2 separate regions of the Homo sapiens genome follow, and region 1 is linked to region 2. Evidence: promoter capture Hi-C in human tissues and cell types (Jung and others, 2019). All regions are on one chromosome and are shown on one strand. Each heading gives the region's core, a stretch centred on a gene start or on the middle of the fragment in contact. The rest is flanking DNA. Distances are from core to core; before and after follow the strand shown.

The links. The method cuts DNA at HindIII sites, captures the fragments that hold promoters and counts their contacts. A contact is called where the count stands out against the background at its distance.
Region 1: a contact is called between a fragment that was not itself captured here and the fragment with the promoter of C16orf95 in region 2, in 3 of the 25 tissues and cell types used here (IMR-90 fibroblasts, aorta and mesenchymal stem cells).

The regions. Positions count from the first base shown.
Region 1 is chr16:87,086,839-87,089,538 of GRCh38, forward strand. No RefSeq gene overlaps it. Among named protein-coding and RNA genes, the nearest start is that of LINC02181, 30 kb to the left of the region's middle. RefSeq lists an enhancer at 1,682-2,331. The HindIII fragment of the contact is 5,730 bases long and covers 1-2,700 here.
Region 2 is chr16:87,316,103-87,318,802 of GRCh38, forward strand. C16orf95 (chromosome 16 open reading frame 95) reads right to left here and starts at 1,290. Exons shown (of 7, transcript NM_001195124.3): 1 at 989-1,290. The coding sequence starts at 1,140. C16orf95-DT (C16orf95 divergent transcript) reads left to right here and starts at 1,407. Exons shown (of 2, transcript NR_135180.1): 1 at 1,407-1,620; 2 at 1,755-1,941. RefSeq lists an enhancer at 868-1,317. The HindIII fragment of the contact is 14,678 bases long and covers 1-2,700 here.

The DNA.
Region 1 (2,700 bases), core at 21-2,520, 230 kb before region 2:
TCCCTAAATGTGAAATTCAATTGGCTACAGTAAAAGTCAATCACAAGGTATGCAATACCCACAGACCCCAGGCAACCCTGTTCCTAATCCTGCAGTCACTGAGGCCATGATTTACTGGGTTAATTTTGGGCTCCTGAATAGAGCGCTGCCAATTCATAGGAGGCACCCATCAGGGTGTTTACTTGGGAAAAAGAAAGAATTAATCAGTTGATGACAGGAGCAAAGAAGGAAAAGTTAAAAGACAGACATTCAGGAGTCATGCCTAACTGAGGTTAGGAGAAACAGAAACTCTGAGTGGGTAGAATCCAGGAGCTAAGAGGAGGTAGATGTGCACCTTCGCATCAACAGAAACCAGGAGATGAAAACAGCGTAATCTCTGTACCTTCTGCTCAATGTTGCCGTAAACCTAAAACAACCCTAAAACATTAAGTCTATTTAAAAACAAACAGGGAAGGCAGAGTGGACAAAATAGAAGGGGTTGACCTTCCCAGTCACTGAGGAAATGGTGGGATTAGAGCCCTCAGGAGGCAGAGTGGAGTTCTGAGACCCAAACCCAAGAGACTGAGCTCAATCACCATGGAGTGGAGATCTCAAGCCAGCTGAAGGGTGCAAGGAGATGTTGTCCCTCAGGCGCCCAAGGGTGCTCTCACCTTCTTCATTGGGTGTTCTCACCTGCTTCGTTGGGCCACATAAACCCCAAATGAAACCCTAAGTCCCAAACCAACTGAAAGGACACCCCCTCTTGGCCAAGAGGACCCCATAGCAACCTGAAAAACTAAATTCCAGGCCAGGCACAGTGGCTCACATCTGTAATCCTAGCACTTTGGGAGGCCAAGGAGGGCAGATTGCTACAGGAAAGGGGTCCCGATCCAGACCTCAGGAGAGGGTTCTTGGATCTCACTCAGTTCTTGGATTCAGGGCTTGTCCATCGAGTAAAGTGAAAGCAAGTTCATCAGGAAAGTAAAGGAATAAAAGAATGGCTACTCCATAGACAGAGCAGCCCCAAGGGTGGCTGGTTGCCTATTTTTATGGTTATCTCTTGATGATATACTCCACAATAGGTGGATTATTCCTGCCTCCCCTTTTTAGACCATGTATGGTAACCATCTGACATTACCACGGCATCTGTAAACTGTCATGACACTGGTGGGATGTAGCAGTGAGAATGATCAGAGTTCCATCCTTGGTCACACCATCTTGGTTTTGGTGGGTTTTAGCCAGCTCCTTTACTGCAACCTGTTTTTATCAGCAAGGTCTTTATGACCTGTATTTTGTGCTGATCTCCTATCTCACCTTGTGACTTGGAATGCCTTAACTGTTTGGGAATGCAGCCCAGTAGGTCTCAGCCTCATTTTAGCTAGCTTCTATTCAAGATGGAGTTGCTCTGGTTAACATGCTTCTGACAGGATCACTTGAGGTCAGGAGTTCAAGACCAGCCTGGCCAACATGGTGAAGCCCTGTCTCTACAAAAAATACAAAAATTAGCTGGCAGTGGTGCTGCACACCTGTCATCCCAGCTGCTCAGGGGGGCTGACGCGGGAGAACTGCTTGAACCTGCCAGCTGGAGGGTGCAGTGAGCTGAGATCGCACCACTGCACTCTAGCCTGGGGGACAGAATAAAACTCTGTCTCAAAAAAAAAAAAAGAAAAAAAAAAAAAACTGGAATCCAGGCCCTAACAGGAAGGGAGGTTGGATACACTTTGTTACACACCTCCCTTTTGGAGTTTAGGCACAACTGACCAGCATTAACATTAAAATAGAGATCGTGAGACAGACAAAACATATTCTTTGCGGCAATAACATATCAAATCCCAACATGATTCTAGTATAGCATCACATAACAGCAGAGCCTGAAGGAAATCAAAATATTTTGCCCCAAAATATATTTCCTTGACATATTTTATAATGGTCCTGCAACACAGTTATTTGTAGGGAAATTTTTGCATCTGTAGAGAATCTTCATTAATGCAGCCAGATCTTTATTGGATTTAAGAGAGATTAAGTAAAAGTCTAACACCTTTAGCACCTATTCTCTCTGAAGACTGCTACCCAGGAGGCATCAACTACATAACAAGAACCTTGGTCTCCACAACACCCCTTATCTGAACTTTCTACTGACTTTAAGTCTTTAGACAAAGCTTAACTCTTTCAACCAATTGCTAATCAGAAAATCTTTGAATCTACCTATGACCTGTAAGCCTCCCTGCTTTGCGATGTTCTACCTTTCTGGGCCAAACCAATATACACATTACACATACTGACTTATGTCTTTGCCTGTAACTTCTGTCTCCCTAAAATGTATAAAATTAAGCTGTAACCTGACCGCTTTGGGTACACTTTCTCAGGACCTACTGAGACCATCCTTCAGGCCATCGCCACTCATATTGGCTCAAAATAAACCCCTTTTCGTATTTTACAAAGTTGGCTTAAAAAAAAAAATTGAGACAGGGTCTTACTCCCATTGCCCAGGCTGAAGTGCAGTGGCATAATCTCAGCATACTATGGCCTCAACCTCTCGGGCTCAAGCAATCCTCCTCCCTCAACCAGTCTCCTGAGTAGCTAGGACTTCAGGCGTGCACCACCACACCCAGCTTTTGTTTGTTTTTTTTTTTTTTTTTTTTTTTTTTTTGTATTTTTTGTAGAGATAGGATCTCTCTATGTTGTTCAGGCTGGGTTCAAGCAATCCACCTGCCTCGGCCT
Region 2 (2,700 bases), core at 40-2,539:
TTGTGCTTGGAGCATCAGAAAAGACAGGAGCATTCCAACCTGCTGAGAACTTTCCAAGACATGTAGCTGCCAATCACATCACCTAGGATGATCTGTCAGACACCCTCAACTTACTGAAATACTGAAGAAAAAACATCGTCAAACTGTCCATTAATGAACCTCCTTCCACTATAAAAACCCGGGTGCTTTGTCTCTGGGATGACAAAGCACTTGGGGTTACACAGCCTGTGTGGCTCTTCCCTGTTCCACTCCCCAACAAACTGCTTGAATGTTGGCTGGATGAAGCGTCTCCAGTGGGTGCAAAGCCCTGCTTCCCTGACAGTAGTGGGTCAAAGTGCTTTGTATGTGGAAACCGTAAGAGCGATATAAGTGTTTTTGGGTTTCATTGTCATAATAACCATTATTATTATTGCTATTTTTGTGAGAGTAATAGGTTCACGCATCAACTCTCCCAGATAATGCTTGAAAACAGAGGATGGGGCACTGCCCTCCACAGCATCCGAGGCCCCTTCTGGTAATGACAGCACTGCTATATTCCTGGTGGGGAGGGGGGGGGCCACAGCCATCTCAGTCCTTGTAGTTCAGGTGGGCCAAACTCACCACTGCCCAGCCTGGAAAGCTGGGAAAAAAAAGAATCTCCTTTTTGTTGAGGTTGATAATCTGATAACATGTAAACCTCAGGAGGTCCTGGTGATCATCTTGCCTCCACAAGGGAAGCCAGCAAAAAGGAAGGAAGCTGAGAGATGGAGAGAAACCTTCCAGGACCATGGTCAATGTGTACCTGGATACATCCATGCCTGAAGGCCTACTTCTGACATTTTCAGTTATGTGGAACCATCAGTTGCGTTTTTGTTAAGCCAATGTAAGTGAGGTTCCTGTGGGTGGCGGTCAAGAGTTCTGCCTGTGCATAGGTCATGGAGCAATGCCGGGCCGGGAACTCACAGGCGAGGTGTCGGGTAGCCGCGGGCAGGATTCAGGACTCACTTGCCTGCCATCCTGCGCGCTGGGTGTGAGTGCCAACCTGCAGAGCCCGACGCACCCCGCGCCCGGCCCCCCGGCAGCAGCGCCTGAGGCTGCTCCAGTGGCCTCATGATGATGGTGACAACGCCGCGGGGACGGTGGGGACCGGCTCGCACGCATATGGCTTCTTATGGCTGACGCGCCCTTTCACACACACATCGTCCGCAGGCCCTGACGCCCTGGCTCCCGCCTTTCCCTCCTGCCCCAGGAGGAACCCAACCCGAGCTCAACCCCAGCCCCAACCTCAACCGCTCAGAGGAGCCCAACAACGCCCGCGCGCCCGCCCGTCCCGCTGACTAGCCCGCGCCCAGCCAATCAAAATTGGCCTTCTAGGTATGTGACCTTAGCTGGCAGCTGATTGGTCCCTCACGAGAGACGCGGGGTCAGCGGCTCAGAGCGCGGCTGTGTGGGGCTGCGGGGCTCCCGCCATGCCCGCTGGGGTAGGTCCTGCGGACCCCGGCCACTGGAGCCACTCATCATTTCCGACGGATGGGCCGGAGGGGCCGCCGGCCGCCCCAGCCAGGGTCTCGGTAGCCTGCAAGGAGAGAAAGAGGTGGGAGCAGCCCGCGCGGGGCCCTGCGTCTTGCATAGGCGCTTCTGGTAAAATCACTCCTTTATCTCAGATAATGAGTTGGCGCTGGATCGCTGCGTCCTCAGGTGGGGCTCGAATCGTGACTTTTAGAGAAATAGGTTTTCTTTCTTTTTTTTTTTTTTTAACAACATGGGGTTTAAAGGGCGCGGAATTGGAAGCAGTCGTCACCCGGAGGCCTGGGCGTGCAAGCACCGAAGCTCTGGCTGGCCCTGAGCCTCCCCACCCCACCCGCTCTTTTCGCTGGAACGCGTGTACTTTGGGCAGTTGCTGACGTGGAGACAGGACGTATGTCTTCATATTTTAGTAAAACCCAATGCCCTCTGCCTCTCTGATTATGTTCTTTAAGTTATCGCCAGTTCCAATTTGTATTTCTTGGAAACGGTTGGGTCTTCCCTCACTTTTCAGTATTTTCATGTAGACTCAAATACTCTGGATTAATATTTGTATTTGCCCAAACCATCACGAGCACCTCTTACCCTGATGGGCAATACTTCAGTGTGCTGCGTTCTGGCCACAGAGCAAACAGGGTGCTCCCAGGCACTGCCCTCTCGGATTTCTTGCCTTGTTATTTAATCATTAAGATCGTGACCTATGAGCAGGACTGTTTCCAGCCAGCACATACACATGTCCTCTCCTGGCCAGCATCCATGCTGATTAGACGGTGCCCCTGCCATACTAGCTGCCTAATATTTCAGATACCCCACCCCGTGTGTGTGTGTAAATCATGTCACTGCCCTCTTTGTAGCTAATGACAAAATTCCAAGAGTCACCATTAGCCTAGCACATTATGCCTGTCTCATTTCTGCCCACTTTGGAGCACTCGGCTTCTCTGCTGTTTTCCTCCAGAGCACACTGAAACACTGCCATAGCACAGCAGGGCATAGAAGACAGGCTCATGCTCCCCTGGACGCTCAGGCCTTCACCTCGGGCACACTAGGTCTTGTCATTCCATGTCAAGAATAGCTCTTCACTGCCCTCACCCACCCAAGAATGGCTAAAATTAAAAGGACTGACAATACCTAGTTTGTCGAGGATGTCACAGCTGGAACCCTCATACATGGCTCATGAAATTGATAAAACCACATTGG